Regions from separate parts of the Homo sapiens genome. Here all the other regions are linked to region 1. The links are contacts of gene promoters, found by promoter capture Hi-C in blood cells and fetal thymus (Javierre and others, 2016). All regions are on one chromosome and are shown on one strand. The core of a region is centred on a gene start or on the middle of the fragment in contact, and the rest is flanking DNA. Distances in the headings are between cores, read along the strand shown.

Region 1 (4,061 bases), core at 1,562-4,061:
TTTTTTGATGATTCGTGGTGTTGAGCATTTTTTCATACGTATGTTGGCCGCTTGTATGTGTTCCTTTGAGAAGTGTCTGTTAATGTCGTTTTCCATCAGTCAGAATGGCAATTAGTAAAAAGTCAAAAAACAACAGATGTTGGCGAGGCTTCAGAGAAAAGGGAATGCTTATACGTTGTTGGTGGAAATACAAACTAGTTCAGCCACTGTGGAAAGCAGTTTGGAGATTTCTCAAATAACTTAAAACAGAGCTACCATTCAACCCAGCAATCCCACTACCTGGTATATACCCAAATGAAAATAATTCATTCTATCAAATAGACACATATACCCATATGTTCATCACAGCACTATTCACTATAGCAAGGGCGTGGAATCAATCAAAGTGCCTGTCAACAGTGGATTGGATTTAAAAAATGTGGTACAGGCTGTTCTGCCTATGGAGTACATTTTTTTTTTATTCCTTCACTTTCTTAATAAACTTGCTTCCTTTTTTTTTCTTTTTTTTTTCTTTTTCAAGACAGAGTCTCCCTCTGTTGCCCAAGCTGGAGTGCAGTGGTATGATCTCAGCTCACTGCAGTCTCTGCCTCCCAGGTTCAAGTGATTCTCCTGCCTCAGCCTCCTGAGTAGCTGGAATTACAGGTGTGCACCACCATGCCCGGCTAATTTTTGTATTTTTAGTAGAGACGGGGTTGCACCATGTTGCCCTGGCTGGTCTCAAACTGTTGACCTGAGGTGATCTGCCCACCTTGGCCTCCCAAAGTTTTGGGATTACAGGTTTGAGCCACCTCACCTGGCCTATTATTCTTTAAACCATGTATATAAAACCAAGGTTAGGTATCTGAAATGGGAATATGAGGCAAAATAATTAATATGTATTGAATCAGACAACACATGTGATTTCTGCCCTTCTTTATTTATCGCCTTCATACTAAAGGACATTAGCCAGGTAATATCAATAACTATTTTCAAATGAGAGAAACAGAAACAATCATTTGAAATAAATTCAGCTACAATGCTTTTGTTTATTTACTGTACAAAATGATTAATGTTCACCAGTATTATTATTTCATTCTTTAGGATCATTTCTGTCTTCAAAAAGCAAATATTTATTTGAGGACTTACTAAATGCTCAAAATGCTGGAATACTTGAGGTTCTTATAGTCTGACCGACGAGAGAGATACCTTAATCATTAAAAATATGTATACCATTATACAATTGGTAAAAGTGGTTTGTGCATAGATCAAGAATGCATCATGGCTGCTAAGTCATGCCAAAGTCAATTGATTCTTCTTATTCCAATTCTACACCTGTAGGGTAATATACTGACAGTGGGGATGGGAAATACATGTAACTCAAATGGTATGTCAACAAATAATATTAATTAAGCAATCATCTCTCTCTCTCTCTCACACACACACACAGACAGCTACCGAGTTTGCAAAAACCGGATTTTGCAGAGCAATGGTCCTATCTATCTCATATTGTCTGAAATTCCTTTCTTTTTTTTTCTTTCTTTCTTTTTCTTTTCTTTTCTTTTTTCTTTTTTTTTTTTTTGAAACGGAGCCTCGCTCTCTCGCCCAGGCTGGAGTGCAGTGGCGCGATCTCGGCTCACTGCAAGCTCCGCCTCCCAGGTTCACGCCATTCTCCTGCCTCAGCCTCCCGAGTAGCTGGGACTACAGGTGCCCACCACCATGCCCGGCTAATTTTTTGTATTTTTAATAGAGACGGCGTTTCACCGTGTTAGCCATGATGGTCTCGATTTCCTGACCTCGTGATACACCCGCCTCGGACTCCCAAAGTGCTGGGATTACAGGCGTCAGCCACTGCGCTCGGCCTATTGTCTGAAATTTCTATCTAGAAATCTTTCCCCATAGTACTTAGAGGATTTTTATAGAGATCTTGAATTTTCTTTCAAAATAATTTTAAAATTAGACCAATTTAAAATCCCATCATGGTCATCTTGGCCTTATGGCTTCAAATAAAACTAAAGCAAGGAATTCAACATAAATACATATTTAGCTGTTGCTATGTTTGAAGCCTTGTGCTAAAGTATGGTACAAAGTTGATTCTGTCAGGGAGAAGCACAAGGAAAGGCACTTTTACAACGGCATGTTGGTCCAGTAAAAGTTCTGCAGCTACTCCTCTCTAATTTAAAAACATATATATATATATTATATATATATATATATATAGCTGCATTAGACACTTAGGTTTTGCAAAAGATGCCTTCATTTCTCATGATGGTATATACATACGTTCTGGATTACTTGTTACTTAAAAATACTGACTTTTGTCCCACGTGTTCCAATTTTAGGTTACATAAATGAGCACACTACTCCGGACCCACATCTCCTGTAATTCAGTGCCTAACTTTCTACCAACAAAGATCCGTGCCTTTCATCCTGAAGTGGGCATAACGGAAAGAGACGCAGAAACCTACGTGGGTTTAAATCCTAGAGGGCTTTGGTGAAAAGTCCCTAATCTCGGTTTTCCACGTCACTCAAATGCAGGGCCACATTAGATAGCCTTTTCAAGGTCCTTCGCATCTGCAGACTTCTGCGATTAAAACGCATCTCTTTTTGGAAGATAATTCACCTGAAGCTCCTCTGGGAAATTAGCTTGCTGAGGGCCAGACCAACAACCGGGTAGGAGCGAATCTGGTTTCTCTTTGAAAAGCCTTCCTAGGGTTAGCATCCAGGGCCAGCAACGGAGCGCGCCCCCGAACCACGTGTCTGCGCCAGCTGCCGGATTGGCTGAGCGCATTTTAGCGCTGCGGTCTAGACGCTCGCGGTCCCGCCCAGTTGCCAGAGGAGCCGGGACACCGAGGGAAGAGGCCGGAGGGAGATCGCGGAGGGGAGGGGGCGGGAGGGGGGTGGGGTATCCTGAGTCGTCCGTGGTCCGGAGTCTGGAAGGCCCTAGAGCGGCGCCAGTCGACCCGCCTCGCCACAACTTGCCCAGACCAGACACGTTTCATCCTGCGCCCTGCAAGAAGGAGCCGGCCTGCCTCTCTCCGCTTTGCTGCTCCTCGGCCTCCGCGGGCCCGGCCCGCGTCAGCAGCGACCCTGGGGTCTGGGTCCCCTGTGTCGCCCCCGCCCGCCTGCAGCGCCCGGCACCCGCCCAGGAGCGCGCAGCTGGGGTGAGCCGAGACCGGGGATGCGCCAGGCGCCCACAGGAGGTGGCTGACGGGGCATCCCGATACCCGCGAAGCCGGCCCTCCTGCCTCTCCAGGCTGCGAGCCGAGCCTCTGCAGATCCAGCTGGAGTAGCCGCCGCTGCCCCCACTGCCTGTTTGCCTTCCAAGGAAGGGCGCCGAGGTTCCCCTGGAACCCGCGTCTCTCGGCTTTTGTCTGCTGGTTCGGCTGCCCGGCGGTGCCATGCGCCTGGGACTTGAGGCGCCGCGCAAGGCTGGGGGCCCTGCCCGGGATGGGGGAGGGAGGGAACGGGAAAGCATGCCCCCTTCTTTCCTGTTCCGGCCATCTTGTGACCGAGATCCACGCAAGGGGAAAGGGGTGGTCAGCGGCACGACGCCCCACGATGGAGTGTGGCGGCCAACGGAGATGGGTACCTCGGGCCCGCAGGCCTCTGCGCCCAGATCTCAGCGGGGGCGCGCGGGCCACCCCCACGTTCAGCTCTGAAGCCCTTGGCCCAGATCATGGGTTAATCGTTCTAACAGGCCAGAGGCAGCAAAAATAGGAGGGATAAAGGGCCAGGAGCTGATGTTTCCTTAACTAAGCGCCTAAGTCATTCGATCGTTCTTCATTCACGTGTCCATTCAGCAAATTCTGAACGCCTTCTCCGTGCCTGTCCTCTGCTAGGTTCTAGGGACGTATACTTGAGCAAGAGAGACCACAGCTCTTGTTCCCGCTGATCCTGCAGCCCAGTGGATGGAGTCCAGAATCTACAGACCTGCCAGGTCGGTGTCTTGATGCTCTTAAACAGATGGAGGAAGCTAAGTCTTAGAGCTGACAATTTGTTCTAGATCAGGGAGCAAGTAAGTGACAGAATCAAACTTTGAAACTATTTATGTCTTTAGCACTTTTTATGCCTGGTTGCAGGGA
Region 2 (4,225 bases), core at 928-3,427, 150 kb before region 1:
GGGCCCCAGCCAGTGTGCCGGCCCCTCTTCTAAGGCCCTGCCTGTAAAGCTGAGCCTCAGGCCATCTTGGAAATTCCAGGACAACAGGGAACTCTCCACCTCTAGAGACAGGCTGGTCCATCTTTGGACAGCTCTGTACACACAGTTCCATCATGAGCCGAAGCTCACTCCTGTGAGCTTTTCAGAACAAGGCTAATCCTTCTGTGTTTGACAGAACAGCCCATAGAGTTAAAATACTACTCCTCCCATCAGCTCCATTCATTCCTAATAAGAGAGCGCCTGCCTCTCCCTCTTGCAGTCATCCTCCCTTTGTTACTTGTTCGTGTTTGTCTGTATTAAAATGGAGTGCACCATTTATGGCCTGCTCTGGTGGAACTAGGTTATTCCTGTGAGTTCAGAGTATCCTATAGGGTACACTCAGAGGCTGGAGCAGTAAATGGTCCTGGGGCGGCCAGCGTCATGGTGCTCTCCGGCTCACTCTTGGGAGTCAGCTGAAGCTGGGGATTGGTAAGAGGTGAGACTCTGTAAGGTTCTAGGTCAGGCCAGATGCTCCACCCAGCTACCCAGAGGTCTGCTGCGGTGGCTGGGGCACAAACCTCAACTATAAGATGGTACTTTGTTTTCCTTTGTTACCAGCCTGTCTTCACTTCTGTGAGAATCTTATAGAAAGGATGATCAGCTGGGCAGAGACACCGGATTCCTACTTTTATTACCTACAATGGCCTTCTCCAGTATTCTAGGTCCCATATTTTCATGGAGTATTAAGCTAAAATTACAGAACAATGTAAACACAGTCTTGATGGCCCCCCTCCCTGTTTGCATCTTGTGATCTGAGTGGCCAGTTTACATGTTACATTTCCAGGTGAGTGACACCTTATACCAGAAAATCCAGATTTATAAATAAGGTATTTCTTTACAGTGAGATGTTTTAATTAAATGGCTTGTTTTAAAAATGCTGTTATGTCAAGAGCTCTCATGCATACAAACTGCTGTGCCATACAAAAATGTACCCTCCTCAGGGACACATTACATAACTGAACCATAGGTCTTATTTGCTAACACTTGGAGAGAAAGCCATTCAGTTCCTTGTCCTGGAGATGCTGAACAAATATAGTCCAACGGCTTTCATGGTATATTCAGGATCCTAAATTCTGGTTCTCGGCTGCAGGCCCTATGTCAAGTTTTAACAAAAATCAAATCCTAGAAGTAGTGGAGGTCAGCGGAATGTGGGGGAACTAGTTTCTAACTATGGGAAGTGATAAATGTCTTCTCTTTCTGCCTTCTTAGAAAAAGTGTCAGAACAGTGTATCTAAACTAAGAATGAGAAGCATTTGTGTTTGACCCACAGTGATGTGTGAGCTTTATGTAGAAAGTAGACCCAGAATCTGAGCATTAAGACAATCCAAAGTCAGCATACCACCTCCAACACTTAGGTCCAAAAGATTGTATTTGGGAAATGCCTGTCATTTGGCTCCAGTTACCCTCAAGCTCCTAGAGAACAACATAGCTCCTAGAAGGATAGCATCAAATACTTCTAAAGGCACCTAAAGCCATGTCAGCCTGGGGTTATAAAATCAGGCTTTTAATATTAAACATGTAGTCTGACACAAGTGGGACCTGCCCACAGAACTGCTTGTTGCTGTGTGCCAGGTCCTGACTCCAGCACCTGAAAAGCAACCAGACAACAAATTGCCACTGCCCAGAAGAGGCTCCAGGGACCCAACAGAATACTTTCATGGGCAGGAGGTACGGGACAAGTCAGATGAACACGTGGATCATGTGTCTCAGATCCATAGTTACAGAGATGAAGTAAAAGGTGCTGATGGGCCCATGCTCAAACCAACAAGCAGAAGTTATGACCCAGCCATTGTCTCACTCACTTCTGTTACTTCATAGACTGAAGGGGCTCCACTCACTTCTAAAGAACCAGTTGATTGGTTAAAATCTCACCTTTGGTGGCAGAGTGAGGAAGAGGAAACATGATGGTCCAGGGCTTTGATGGCCAAAATTACAGGTAACTTTGTAAGTTAGAGGGGCTCGGTCAGGTGTGTAAGCCCATTCTAGAACCTCTCTTTTTTAAAGTCTTCAAGTGTTATCGTAATGTGACAGCTGTTCCCCATTTTCTATTTGTTAACCCCATTTACCAAATACAAACTTCTATTTTCTGAGAAATTCTCAGGTAAAGCCTCTTGACTTAGAACTAGTAACACCTCTGTTGTAAAGATCTCTGATTTGGAAAATAATCTTCTCCTCTACAGTTAATAATTACTTGAAGTGAAGAAGTTTACTTCAATCATGTGGATCTGCTCAACTATGTAAAGTTTGTATCCTACCTGATGTGATTTTACTTTAAAAAGGAAAGGTTTTTATTAGAATTGAAGAAAAATTATTCAGATTTTAAAGATGGGCTTCAAACCATTATTTGAATATGTTTAATTTAAAATTTTCAGGAAAAGGAGAGGAGGAATAATTATGGTACTACCTTTACTGGGTAAGATGAATGTTGAAATAAATAGAACTAATCCTGTAGTAGAGTGTCTAGTCTAGAGCATCAGATTGAAACTACTTTCCATACAAATGTCCTGCCACAGACCTCTGCCGTGTTTGTCTTCCTCACGCTGGTAGGTAGCTTTTCCTTTGTTTCCCCACGGTCTGCTTCCACCAGAAAACGATTTCTAAAAAGTTTCATCTAAATAAGGCCAGTAATATGGTAGGTCTCTCTGCCCTGAACAGATTGAACAAATATTTCAACAATTTAACAAATAATTTAGGTACCTACTGTGTGCCAAGCTGTCCTCTTAAGGTTACTAGACAGTATAAATGACAGACATTAATACCCAAATGAAAATGTTGTGAAGGGCAAGTGTCAAGACAGACCTAACAAGTAACATTTTAGGATGAAACCTGAAGTAAAAGTTCGTGCTAGCCAGGCAAGAAAGAATAGTATGGAAGGAGTTTTGTTCGTTTGAGGACTGAAAGAAGGCCCATGAGGTTGGAGCCTGGGTGACAAGGCAAGTGAGTTTATGAACCATGTGAAGAGCTTTTGTGATTTGATCCTCAAGCGCAGTGAAGGGCTAACATCCATTCATATAAATCCTAAACTGCTCGGTGAATATTTTTATGCCTGCATTGTTTCCTAATTCCTTATTCATAACAGCAGTACCAACTTTTTGGACAAAAGCTCTAGATTTGCTAATGCTGCTTTTTTTCATTGTTCAATGTCCATAATGAATTTCCTCTCATCTGAGGCCCTGTCCTACAGGGAGAGCCCTCCCCTCATTCCACAATTGCTTAATGTTTATGCATTCAGTAGGAGGAATAGATGCTATTTTGTTTGTACAAACATTAACCATAGAATGAAGTCTTTCCACTGTAACTTGAGATAACAAAGCCACAAACATTGCAGGAAACAAAATAGTGCAACCGGTGGTATATATGAAGTGACAGGGTATCTAAAATCCTAAGAAAACTTGACACAGTGAAATGTACGTAATTTGTTAAAAGAATTATCCTTTTTTTTTCTTTCTGAGATGGAGTCTCACTGTTGCCCAGGCTGGAGTGCAGTGGCACAATCTTGGCTCACTGCAACCTCCGCCACCCAGGTTCAAGCGATTCTCCTGCCTCAGCCTCCCAAGTAGCTGAGACTACAGGCGCCTGCCACCACGTCCGGCTAATTTTTTGTATTTTTAGTAGAGACAGGGTTTCATCATGTTGGCCAGGCTGGTCTTGAACTCCTGACCTCAGGTGATCCACCCAACTTGGCCTCCCAAAGTTCTGGGATCACAGGTGTGAGCCACTATGCCCAGCCCAAGATTCATCCTTTTAACAGATACTTTAGAGAGGATTTTTCCTTCTTATACTGGTTTCCCTAACTAGTTACTTGTAATTTTGCTCCTAAGTATGAAGATGCTTTATCTCTAAAGAATTATCCTTTTAACAGATAGTTTAGAGAAAAAGCATCTTCATACTTAGGAGCAAAACTGCATGTAGTTAGGGAAAACAGTGTAAGAAGGAAAAATCCTTTTTAACCGTACCTACAAATGGCACACTGTACTCAAAGATATACCTATACAAATCTCCTGTAATAACAAGGAAGTATATAAATACCAAGAAGACTTAAGAGCAGTTGAAATCCACTCAGAAATGCTGCAAGCAGTGGTTACTCCCTTATGCTTTTTACATATGTTCAATTCTGGTTTCCTCAGACCTTGGCACTAATGTTCCC
Region 3 (4,346 bases), core at 664-3,163, 190 kb before region 1:
ATTGGAGGTTCCAAGGGGTCAAAGGATATTGATATCTGAGTACTCAGTGGAGTGAGCCAAAAATCAAGAGGTGGTCAGAGAGTGGCACCATGAAATTGAAAGTATAGAAGACTTGGTCTAGTATATAACCATTTGAGTTAGTAGCTTAGATAATATGGTAGGCCAGGTTATTTAAGGAAGGGATTCCAAGGAACTAAGGGTGTCAGAAGGGACAGTTAAGGTTTTTCTTTCTTTGATTAACGGACTTTATTTTTTTAGAGCAGTCTTAGGTTTACAAAAAAAATGAGCAGAAAGTATGGGTAATTTTCTATTTCTGGGCTCTTTATTGTGTTCCATTGATGTATTTGTCTCTTATTTTTCCAATACCACACTGTTTTGATTACTGTAACTTTATAGTAAGACTTCAAGTGTGGTAGTGTCAGCCCTCTGACTTTATTCTTCAATATTGTGTTGGATATTCTGGATCTTTTCCTTTTTCCCTAAACTTTAGAATCAGTTGGCCAATCTCCACAAAATAACTTGCTAAGCCTTTGATTGGGATTGTGTTAAGTCTATAGATAAATCTGGGAAGAACTGTTATCTTGACTATGGAGTCTTCCTATGTGTGAACATAGAATATCTCTTCATGTATTTCAGTGTTCTTTGATTTCTTTCCTCAGAATTTTGTAGTTTTCATTTTGTTGAGGAACATATTTTATTAGATTTATGTTTAAGTATTTCTCTTTTTCGGTGCTAATGTAAATGGTGTGTTTTCTTAAATTTCAAATTATGTTTGTTCATTGCTGGTATATAGAAAAGCAGTTGACTTTTGTATATTAACTTTTTATCTTGTAACATTGCTAAAATTGCTTATCAGTTCCAGAAGTTTTTTCCCTTGATTCTTGGGATTTTCTGCATAAACAATCCTGTTATCACAAACAGTGACAGGTTTTTTTCCCTTCCCAATCTATATACATTTTCCTTTTCTTGTCTTATTGCATTTGCTAGGACTTTCAGTGTGATGTTTAATAGGGATGTTGAGAGAAGAACCTTAAAATTGTGAATCTTGGAGCTTATGTAGGACAACCAGCACAAGTACCCTTCATACTCTTGGAGAGAGAGGAACATGCCTTTGCTCTTGAATATAAGCAGATCTTCTATAGGGAAAGGAAGGGAAGGACTCCACCCCTGGAATATAAACAAATATCTCTGGGGAAGATTTGTCTGATTCTCTCCAAAGGTCTCTAACTTACTAGGCTAGTTTGCCAGTCAAACATCCATTAACCCAGATGCCAGCAATCTTTACTTAGAGAGCTCTGAGCATGCAGAAATGGGAAAATATTCATGGATCATTGTTTCCAATGGGGAGATGAAAATTCACCTCAGAATCCAGAGAGCATTGTGGTGACCAATATGAACAGTAATTGCAGGCATAATGTGAGCAATAGAGGCAGATAGAGGTAGTGAGGCTGTCCATTGTGGGGACTATTGAATGGTAGGTTTCTATGCCTCCTTCTTCATCCTTGTTCCCAGGGGTAGAGTCTAGGAGAGATGTAGGTATATTCCAGTGCATGGATTCATTCATGACACAAGATGATTGGATCACCTTAGGTATTTTAAGCTTTAAAGTGTAGAGAAATCTCAGATTTGCATATGTTTTATGATCTGTTTACAGTCTAACTGATGTCTTACTTCATTCAGCTTCTTTCCTTCTGACTCTAAATTTCATACGTCTATGATTAAATCACAATTTTCTGTAGGATCTCCCCAATAATATGATTTACCAAGTCGCCATTAAGTCTCTTCCTCAAGACTGGCTGTGGTGTGAAACCTGGTGTGATGATGAATCCAAACAAAGAGCCAAAACAATTGATCTGGTGAGTGTCTTTGTTTTCATTTGTATGTAAGCAGATACAGAAATGTTTAAATAGAAATATTTTCTTTCTGTTTTACAAAGGGAGTGGCATACGTATTACTTCGCTTCTTCTGCTGTTCAGTCTATTACACATTTACTTAGGTTGGCAAGTATAGGGTTATTTTGGGGGCCCCCAAGACCACCCTGAGGTTTGATGATTCACTAAGGAGATTCATGAGATGCAAAATATAATCATATTCATGGCTTGATTTATCACAGTGAAAGGATATAAAGCAAAGTCAGCAAAGGGAAAAGGCACATGGGGCAAAGAGAAAATCAGGTGCAAGATTCCAAGAGTCCTTTCTCTGTGATATCACACGGGACAAGCTTCATTCCTCAAGCAATAAGAGATTCCACAACCAGTGTGAAGTATTACCTACTAAGGACATTTATTAGAAACCCCAGTGTCCAGGGGTTTTACTGGGGGCTGGTGACCATATAGCACTGTCTGCCTGAGACACACCTAAATTTCCAGCACTCAGGAGGAAAGCAAGTGTTTAGCATAAACACCTTTGCACAGATAATTTAGACACAGTGAGTTACTCTTATAAAGGAATGGTGAGAACCATCCTGAACCCTGTGTTCCCAGATGCCAGCGAGGAGCCAAACTTACAAGCAGGTCTTTCTAAGAATAGCAATTTCAGGCTTTCTGTATTAACTCTTTTCTGCAAAAGGACTTTTGAAAAAAAGGCTTAGAGGGCTGGGCACGGTGGCTTACGCCTGTAATCCCTGCACTTTAAGAGGCCGAGGCAGGTGGATCACCTCAGGTCAGGACTTCGAGACCAGCGTTGCTAACATGATGAAACCCCATCTCTACTAAAATTACAAAAAATTAGCTGGGCGTGGTGGCACATGCCTGTAGTCCCAGCTACTCAGGAGGCTGAGGCAGGAGAATTGCTTGAACCTGGGAGGCAGAGGTTGCAGAGAGCGGAGATGGCGCCACTACACTCCAGCCTGGAGACAAGAGCAAAACTCCATTTCAAAAAAACAAACAAACAAAAAAAAAGGGCTGAGAGCTAGCTGAAAATGTTTGTGGATTAGCTATCATCTTGACATGTCTTCAGTTTAGTTATCCTGCCAATATTTTCCCCCAAATAAAGGCAAACAAGACAATTTTGTCTACTTAAAATATATCATACATGCTTTTTTCTTACTTATTTTTAAGAGATTATTTTTCCTAGATTTTCATTTAAAGCAGTTTATGCTGTGCAGTTTAACTCTCCTAAACATAAAATATTTCAAAGTAATTTATTTGTTGTCCATTTAGATTTTATATTCCACTACTACCTTGTCTTTAGTAGGTATAATAAGTTTTTTTCCTAGTATATTGTTTTTAATGTGCTAAGTGTAGAAAATTGTTTACAAGATCTTCACTGACGAATAAGCTATTAAAATGTTAGAATTCACACAATTTTGAACAAAAAAGAGCAGGAAAACAAAATATAGGAACTTTTTCAGACATGTATAGAAATACATATTTTAAAAATAGCATGCCAGCATGTTAGAATGTAATCATAGTTGGTAGAATATAGCAGAAACAAATAAAAAGGCATTTTTAAGAGGTAAGCAAGGGAATTTCATAAAGAGAGGCCAAGAACATTATTGAACACAACTACTAATATGTTGTTAGGGTTCTGTTGTGGCTCATACAGTAGTGGTGTAGGTCATTTTGGGATCTTTAGTACTTAGACTAACATGAGCTACCATAACAAACCCCCAAAATTCAGTGGCTTCATACTCATTCCAGCAGCAGACCTAAGTGGATATCTCCGTCATTGAGTAGCCCTCCTGTGTGCCATGTCTCAGGGAGTACTTTTTGTCCACCTGTAACTGCTTCTTCCAGTGCAGTAGCCACTTGCCTTATGTGGCTGTTGAGCCCTTAACATGTTGCTATTCTGAATTGAGATGTGCTGTAAGGTATAAAGTACACACCAGATTTTGAATACTCAATACAATGAAAATAACATATATCTCATTACTAATTTTTGTATTGATTACATGTTGACTTAGTATTTTGGATATATTGGGTTGAATAAAATATAGTATTAAAATTTATTTCACCTATTCCTCTTACATTTTTATACATGGCTACTAGAAAAATTTAGTATTTTTCTAGTGAAAAAACCCACAAATTATGTGTATGGTTTTCATTGCATTTGTATTGGATAGTACCAATCTGGAGGGAAGGGGAAAAAAAGTGTGGAGAACATATATCTTGAATCCTAAAGGCATGGCCCCTTGGTGGGAGTTGGTCACGTGGCCATATCTAGATGTAACAGGAGCTGAGAAATGGCATTCCTGGATGGACAGCTACTTCCTAGCAATAGCAATACCAATACCCAGGAAAAGGAGAAGTGGCACAAATTTTGGTGTTCAGCCCGTCTCCCTCATAGAAACACTAAGAGTAGAATGAGAGAACATGCTATTCTTCATGGAGGAGAAAAGAGAATGC
Region 4 (4,155 bases), core at 973-3,472, 210 kb before region 1:
TCACAGAGAATAACTCAAAAATATTTGAATTGTAGCACTGATACGTTAAAATGGAACTTCAGATTCATTTGTATCCTTTCCATTTGGAGGTTTAGGTTAGCAAACCAAATGACCCATCCAGTGAATTTGTCAATATAGATAGATCATTCAGCTCTTCAGGGTTTGTAGACTTAATATTAATCACACAGTCATGGACAGCTGGGCCCAGGTGAAGCTACCATGATGTATATGTATTCATCCTTACACATTACATACTTGATAAACCATATTTTAGTTTATTTCTTCACATTTCATTGTGAAAACCTTCTAATTCATACCTTCAATTATTTAAAAGCCTTTAAAAGACCTATGTAACAAACCTGTATGTTCTGCACATGTATCCCAGAACTTAAAGTAAAATTTAAGAAATTAAAATTAAATTTTAAAAAACACTTCAAGGTTAAAAAATATATATGAGCTCCTGTTACTGTTAATGTATATTGGGTTTAATATTCTTTTATACAGAATTATGATGCTTTCTGTTTTGCGTAACACCAAAACACCAGTGAAATTCTGGTTGCTAAAAAATTATCTCTCACCGACATTTAAAGTAAGTACATAGCTTTTTTTGTAGAATGGTTAATGTTTGAATAGTAAATTATTTGTATCATTGTAAGTTTATATGATATTTCTCTTTTCAGAATAAGCTTTTTGAAAAAATGGTATTTAGTATTTTTATGTAGCTTAAGAAAAATTCTGTACAATTTTTATTTAGAGATGTTCAAAGGAGAGGACAGAAGACTGTATATTTTTAAGTAAAATCAAAATCAGAATGGCTAGTAGTTTTTCATGATAATGAGTAATTAAATACAATTTGGCAATGGAAAATATATACAGATTTTCAATTAAAAGAAATGGATTCTGTCATTTTTGCAAAGATAGGCAGAAACAGTAGTAGTATCAAGAAAATACAAAGACTATACCTATACCGTAGAAAATAGTTTTACAGTACTGAAACAAAAAAGCTCTTTCGTCTGTGTAGTGTATTGATTGCTGGGCACCATGATCTGAGGCATTTTATATTTAGAAGATTTCAGGTGATCAACAGCTATTACCCTTTACTCAGCCCTATACTCCTGCTACAAAGTATACTCTGTTTCTTCCTATTCTCCCTACAGCATAATCAAATTCCGTGAAATTTAGTGTCTCCGCAGCAATTTGGTGTCTCATTCAACAGCATTTCAAATGAGTTTGTTTTTTCTAGACCAAAAGCAGTGGGAAAACAGAAGTAAAACTAGCCAAGCATGCTTTTATTCCTTAATATTTCTAGGCATGATGCCAAGTGTTTAACTGACGTTATTCAATTGTTTTTCATAACAATCCCACATGATAAGAAAACCAAGATTCAAAAGTTACGTAACTAGCTTGCACAGTTGAGAGGTACCTGAGACCACTTTTAGATTCAATAACTTACTATAAGGATTTATATAACTCCAAAAAACAGCTGTGCTCACAGTTACAGTTTTTATAGCAAAAGGACACAAATAAAATCAGCAAAAGGAAGAGATGCTTAGGGTAGGGTCCGGGGAGACCAGACACAAAGTTAACAGTTGTCCTCTCCCAGTAGAATCCCGTTACAGTGGATAGCACTTATTTCTTCCAGCAACAGTGTGTGAGGGTACTCGTGGAGTATTGCCAACCAGGGAAGCTCATTCAAACTTTGTGGTACAGAGTTTTTATTGAGGGTCAGCTGTGTGGACTTGGCTAACGGCCTGCATGACTAACCTTAACCTCTAACCCCTTCAGATGTTGAACTGATGCTTTGTGGCCCAAGGTCCTCACTACAAATAACATCATTAGCATACAATATCTAGTGTGGTCCGAGATCTGCAGGTAAACGTAGACATTCTTATTAGTCAGGAAATTCCAAGGGTAGAGGATATTTCCTGGGAGATAGGGTGAAGGGCCAGGGTAGGGGATATTTCCTGGGAGATAGGGTGAAGGGCCATACTTTTCTTTGAGCAAGAATCATCCTTTATAGCATAGGCCTGATATGAAACAGCTAATTAGAAACACAGCTGAGATTTGAACCCAGGCATTCAGACCTCAGGTGCTTAACCTTATGTAACAGCCCATTTGCCCTCCACCACCAACAGTGTCTCCTCCTATGCTCATTTGACAGTAGGAAAAAAAAAAAAAAACAGAAAAAGAACCTATAAATATAGATAAGAAGTTATACTATTTTTCTACTAATTTTTTAACATGCTTTCCTAGTAGTCAGACACTGAATAAGGGAGTATTTAACCCAAATAAACTGAGATAGAAAAATCTAAAGATTCTCTTAGCAGGAAAAGATATTATTCACCAGAACAATAGTGCTATGTCTGGATTAGAAAGTCTTGTTCCACTGCATGGCCAAAAGAAATACTGTATCTGAAGTAGTATTTTCCTTCTTTTTGTGATGTGTTTCTTTCATTCAAAATTTTTCTTTTGAAAACTTCTTAGTGAAATATAACATATACTCAGAAAAGTGCACAAATCATGAAATTTAGCTTTGGATTTTTACAAACTCAAACATCTGTGTAAATCAGCAGCCAGATACAGAAGCCGCTAGCTACTTTAGATTTGTTCCTACCAGTTTAGAAAAGTCAAACCTCCTCTCTTCATTCAAATATTTGCTAAAATTATACATACTTACACATAATTATTTTCTGACAGCACTATACAAACTATAATTCCCTCTCCCTTTTAATTTTTCTTCATAGCACTTTTTTCTGTAGATAATAGTTTATTTCTACCTACTTCCTCTAAAATACAAGCCTCATGAAGGTCATAATTTGTATTTCTTTTGTTCACTAATGTACCCTTAGATCCTAGAACAGTGCCCGTTTCAGTGAATATTTGGACACATATTTAATGAAGAAAAAATATTCTTTTTATTTTATCTGAATGTTTTATTTTATTTTATTTTGAAACCAAAACAATGACTCCTGGCAGCTGTTGTACCCCTAATTTCAAGATTTCACAGATAAAATTGGTGCTTCTTGCATTTAAAAAAAAGTATTTTAAATCTACATTGTTCTTACAAAGTCAGAGAAAAAAATTAAACATATAACCAGAAACTAGTTTCAAGTAAGAATCAAGTGGTAAAACGCAAATTCTATATTTATTAATTCATCTTTTCCAATTCCTTTTTCATTTTCTCTCTCAGTATTTGAGCTCTTGAACTAAATTTAGCCCACAGTATATTTCATTAACTGCTTCTGCTTTAAACAGGGAATAAGCTACTTCTAAGCCTATAAGATACTCAAATATGAAATATTCAGACCATAATCACTACTTTGTATTTTTAATCCTTGAATTAAATAATGATATATCTCAAACATGAAGCTCCTGTATAGAATCTAATTTATCAGCTTAGAACTTATTTTGTGTTTTTTGTATCCTCTCTTCATCTTTACATCTCTGACCAACCAACCTGTTGACATATACATGAACTATTTGATATGTAGGTGTTCCAAGATCCAGAGGCTTTTTTTTAAGTCAGTTTTCTCAAGTCAGATGTTAACAATAAAAGTATGGGAACATTTATCTTCCATTAATAAGTTTGTTAAATAATATAGTGCACTTATTTTTAATGACGTTAAATTATATAGTTTTATTTATACTTGTGATTTCATATTTGTTAGCATTTTAATATTTCTCATTAATAAGTATGTTATAGAAGTAGTATTTAGACATCTTGCCTATTAGTTTATAACAATTTATAGGAAGCTTTACCTTTTTAATGTTATTTTTTTCTCTAAAACAAAACTACTTTCTCTTGAACATATTGTTTGATTTTGTGTGTGTGTTTTTAGGAAGTAATTCCTCACATGGCTAAAGAGTATGGATTCCGATATGAACTAGTTCAATATAGGTGGCCCCGTTGGCTTCGTCAACAGACTGAAAGACAGAGGATTATTTGGGGTTACAAAATTCTTTTCCTTGATGTTCTTTTCCCACTAGCAGTGGACAAAATCATTTTTGTTGATGCTGACCAGGTAATAAGGTTAACTACTATTTTTAGTAATACGCAAACATTTTTTACACTTCTATCTTAATATAGAGATTAATTCATGTTGCTCATGTTTATTATCTTCATTACGGTGCTTAAGATACGATTGTGATATATAA
Region 5 (4,151 bases), core at 900-3,399, 170 kb before region 1:
GTTTAGTGACTTTTTTTTGAGACAAAGTCTTGCTTTGCTATCCAGGCTGGAATGCAATGGTGTGATCTCAGCTCACTGCAACCTCCACCTCCCGGGTTCAAGCGATTCTTGTGTCTCAGCTTCTCAAAGTAGCTAGGATTACAAGCATGTGCCAACATGCCTGGATAATTTTTGTATTTTTAGTAGAGAGGGGGTTTCGCCATGTTGGCCAGGCTGGTCTTGAACTCCTGACCTCAAGTGATCCACCTGCCTCGGCCTCCCAAAGTGCTGGGATTACAGGCATGAGCCACTGTGCCCAGCCCAGTTTAGTGACTTTTTACTAATATATACAGTCATGTAACCACCATCACAATCAAGATGTAGAACATTTTCCTTACCTCATGCAGCTCTGCAATTCACCTTTGTGGCAGAACCTTCCTTTCCACACCCAACTCTTACAATCACTAAGCTGCTTTCTGTTGTAACAGTTGTGCCTTTCCTCCAGTGCCATACATTGAATAAGTATATATTCTTTTGTTTGAATTCACAAAATTGAAACCAAAGACTTATCATGTTGTTGAATATATCAGTAGATTATTCCTTTTTATTCTTGAATGCTATTCCATTGTATAGATATACTATTCTATGCTTATCCTTTCTATTTGATGAACCTTTGGGTTATTTCCAGTTTGGGGCTATTATTAGTCTTAGTCTGGACCATATGTTTTCATTTCTCTTCTGTAAATACCTAGTAGTATGGGGGTGTTGGGTCATATGGAAAGCTTGTATTTAACCTAAGAGGCTGAGAAGCTGTTTTCCAAAGTGGTTGTAACATTCTAACTAACAACATATGAGAGTTCCAATTGCTGTACTTCCTCACTAACATTTGATATCACTCTCTTAATTTAATGGATGCATAGTGATATATTGTTGTAGTTTCAGTTTACATTTCCCTACAGACTAATTATAATATTAGTTCGTTCTTACACTGCCATTAAGAAATACCTGAGACTGGGTAATTTATAAAGAAAAGAGGTTTAATTGGCTCATGTGGTTCCACAGGCTCTACAAGAAGCATGGCAGCATCTGCTTCTGGGGAAGCCTCAAGGAGCTTTTATTCATGGTGGAAGGCAAAGCAGGAGCAGGTGTCTTACATTGGAGGAACAGGACCACGAGAGAGAAGGGGAAGGTGCCACACACTTTTAAACAACCAGATCTCACACTAACTCACTCACTATCACAAGAAGAGCACCGAGGGAATGCTGCTAACCCATTCATGAGGACTCTGCCCCCGTGGTCCAGTTACCTCCTACCAGGGAATTATACCCTCCCACCTCCAACACTGGGGATGAGATTTGGTGAGGACACAGATCCAAACCATATCGTTGTGCTTATTGGCCATCTGTATATTATAAGTTTTTTTGCAAAGTGCCTATTCAAGATTTTTGCTCTTTTTTAAGTTTTGGATTTTGAATTTCTTTGGAAAACAAAAAAGCCCACTGAGATTTTGATTGCAACTCTTGTTTTAAATCAGTTTGGTGAAGATTAATGTGTTGATTATGTTGAGCTTCCAATTCATAAATACGATATGTTTCTTGATTTATTTTGGTCTTTAATTACTCCTAGCAGAGTTTTAGTTTGCAGTGTACATATTTTACTAAGAATTTTATAACTGAATGCTAATATAAATGGTATTTTTAAATTTCTTGTTGGTTGCTAATACATAGAAATACAATTAATTTTTGTATATTGGACTTATGTCCTGTGGCTTTGCTATACTCACTTATTAGTTCTAGTAGAGTTCTTAGGAATTTTTTCATAATGGGTCCTGTTATAGTTGTAGAGTTCACAGGATTGTCTTCACAGTGGATCATATCTTCAGCAAATAAAAATAGTTTTACTTTTTCCTTTCCAGTCTTCATAGTAATGTGTTTTATTTATTTTTCTTGTTGTGCTGGACTGGCAAGGGCCTCTGGGTTGAGAACAGATACCCTTCCATGCCTGTTTTTCATCTTAGTGAGAAGGCATTTAGTTTTAGACCATTATGGATGATGTTAGCTTTGGGTCTTCATAGATGTCCTTTATCAGGCTGTAAAAGTTTCCTTTTATTCCTAGTTTACTGGGAGTTTTAATCATAAATTGATACTTGAGTATGTCAAATGCTTTTTCAATATCTGTTGAGATGATCATATGGCTTTTCTCTTGTAGTTAATATATAAATTATACTGATTGACATTACAGTGTTTAATCAACCTTGTATTTCTGAGATAAAGTCTACTTGGCTATGATGGAGGATCCTTTTTATATATTGCTGGTTTTAATTTCCTGAAATTTTCTTAAAGATTTTTGCATCTGTGTTCATGGAGAATATTGTTCTATAATTTTCTTAATGCCTTTATCTGGTGTTAATGTCAAAGTAATGCTTGTCTAATAGAATGAGTTGAAGTCAAAGGAGATTGCCTCAGATGAGACTTTGGACTTTGGAGTTTTGAGTTAATGCTGGAATGAGTTAAGACTTTAGGAGACTATTGGGAAGGCATGATTGTATTTTATAATGTGAGAAGGACATGAGATCTGAGGCAAATCCCTTCGCCTATGAGCCTGTAAAATAAAAAACAAGTTAGTTATTTCCAAGATACAAAGGAGATGTAAGCATTGGATAAACATTCCTCTTCCAAAAGGAAAAAATTGGCCAAAAGAAAGGGGCTACAGGCCCACACAGGTCCAAAACCCAGCAGGGCAGTCATTAAATCATAAAGCTCCGAAATAATCTCCTTTGACTCCATGTCCCACATCCAAGTACACTGATATGAAGGGTGGGCTCCCAAAGCCTTGAGCAGTTCCACCCCTGTGGCCTTGCCGTGTTCAACCCCCGAGGCTACTCTCACAGGCTAGAGTTGAGTGCCTACAGCTTTTCCACACTGAAGGTGCAAGCTGCCAGTGGATCTACTGTTTTGGGCTCTGGAGGACAGTGGCCCTCTTCTCATAGCTCTGCTAGGCAGTACCCCAGTGGGGACTCTCTGTGGGGGGTACAATCCCACTTTTTCACTCCATACTTCCCTAGTAGAGGTTCTCTCTAAGACTCTACCCTTGCAGCAGGCTTCTGCCTAGATACCCAGACTTTTTTTAATACATTCTCTGAAATCTAGACGATGGCTGCCAAGCCTCATTCACTCTTGCACTCTGCATGCCTACAGGCTTAACACCACATGCCAGCCACTGAGGCTAATGGCTTGCACCCTCTGAAGTAGCAGTCTGAGCTATATCTGGGGCTCCTTTAGCCGATGCTGGAGCCAGAGTGGTCAGAATGAGGAAAACAGTGTCTTGAGGCTGTGCAGGGCAGCAGGACCCTGGGCCTGGACCATGAAACCATTCTTCCCTTCTAGGTCTCTGGGCCTGTAATGGGAAGGGCTGCTGCAAAGGTCTCTGAAATGCTTTTGAGGACTTTTTCTCATTGTCTTGGATGTTAGCTCTTGGCTCACTTTTGGTTATGCGAATATCTCTAGCAAGTGGTTGCTCCACAGCTTGCTTGGATTCTTCCTTTGAAAACAAGCTTTTATTTTCTACATGGCCAGGCTGCAAATTTTCCACTTTTACACCCTGCTTCCCTTTTAAAAGTTCCAACTTTAAATCATTTCTTTACTCCCACATCTGAGCATAGCTTGCTAGAAACAGCCAGGACACATATTAAATACTTTACTGCTTAGAAATTTCTTCTACCAGATACCCTAAATCATCGCTTTGAAGTCAAACTTCCACAGATCCCTAGGGCACAAACAGAATGCAGCCAAGTTCTTTGTTAAAGCATAACATGTATGACTTTGCTCCAGTTCCCAGCCAGTTCCTCATTTCCATCTGAGAGCTCACTTCACTGTCCATATCACTATCAGCATTTTGGTCACGACCATTAACCAATCTCTGAGATGTTCCAAACTTTCCTTTATCTTCCTGTTTTCTTTTGAGCCCTCCAAACTCTTCCAGCCTCTGCTATTACCCAATTCCAAAGTTGTGTCCACGTTTTCAGGTATCTTTATAGCAGTGTCCCACTCCTTGGTACCAATTTTCTGTATTAGGCCATTCTTGCACTGCCATAAAAAAATACCTGAGACTGGGTGATTTATAAAGAGATTTATGGTTCATGGTTCTCAGGCTGTACAAGCATGGTGCCAACA

Evidence for each region. The method cuts DNA at HindIII sites, captures the fragments that hold promoters and counts their contacts. A CHiCAGO score of 5 or more calls a contact.
Region 2: a fragment that was not itself captured here is called in contact with the fragment with the promoter of DZIP1 in region 1 in 1 of 17 cell types (neutrophils); the score reaches 12.5 in neutrophils.
Region 3: a contact is called between a fragment that was not itself captured here and the fragment with the promoter of DZIP1 in region 1, in 3 of 17 cell types (neutrophils, M2 macrophages and M1 macrophages). The highest score is 11.9, in neutrophils.
Region 4: a contact is called between a fragment that was not itself captured here and the fragment with the promoter of DZIP1 in region 1, in 1 of 17 cell types (neutrophils). The highest score is 7.0, in neutrophils.
Region 5: a fragment that was not itself captured here is called in contact with the fragment with the promoter of DZIP1 in region 1 in 11 of 17 cell types (neutrophils, activated CD4 T cells, naive B cells and 8 more); the score reaches 16.4 in neutrophils.

What each region holds. Positions count from the first base shown.
Region 1 is chr13:95,643,456-95,647,516 of GRCh38, reverse strand. DZIP1 (DAZ interacting zinc finger protein 1) reads left to right here and starts at 2,811. Exons shown (of 23, transcript NM_198968.4): 1 at 2,811-3,140; 2 at 3,819-3,916. RefSeq lists an enhancer at 2,599-2,648 and silencers at 2,739-2,848, 2,939-3,028, 3,089-3,198. The HindIII fragment of the contact is 11,159 bases long and covers 1-4,061 here.
Region 2 is chr13:95,796,351-95,800,575 of GRCh38, reverse strand. No RefSeq gene overlaps it. Among named protein-coding and RNA genes, the nearest start is that of DNAJC3, 120 kb to the right of the region's middle. The HindIII fragment of the contact is 4,508 bases long and covers 1-4,225 here.
Region 3 is chr13:95,834,596-95,838,941 of GRCh38, reverse strand. It overlaps UGGT2 (UDP-glucose glycoprotein glucosyltransferase 2), which reads left to right. Exons shown (of 39, transcript NM_020121.4): 37 at 1,740-1,856. Among named protein-coding and RNA genes, the nearest start is that of DNAJC3, 160 kb to the right of the region's middle. The HindIII fragment of the contact is 621 bases long and covers 1,603-2,223 here.
Region 4 is chr13:95,856,025-95,860,179 of GRCh38, reverse strand. It overlaps UGGT2 (UDP-glucose glycoprotein glucosyltransferase 2), which reads left to right. Exons shown (of 39, transcript NM_020121.4): 33 at 505-589; 34 at 3,840-4,022. Among named protein-coding and RNA genes, the nearest start is that of DNAJC3, 180 kb to the right of the region's middle. The HindIII fragment of the contact is 3,067 bases long and covers 689-3,755 here.
Region 5 is chr13:95,812,995-95,817,145 of GRCh38, reverse strand. All of the region lies in intron 38 of UGGT2 (UDP-glucose glycoprotein glucosyltransferase 2), which reads left to right. Among named protein-coding and RNA genes, the nearest start is that of DNAJC3, 140 kb to the right of the region's middle. The HindIII fragment of the contact is 2,771 bases long and covers 764-3,534 here.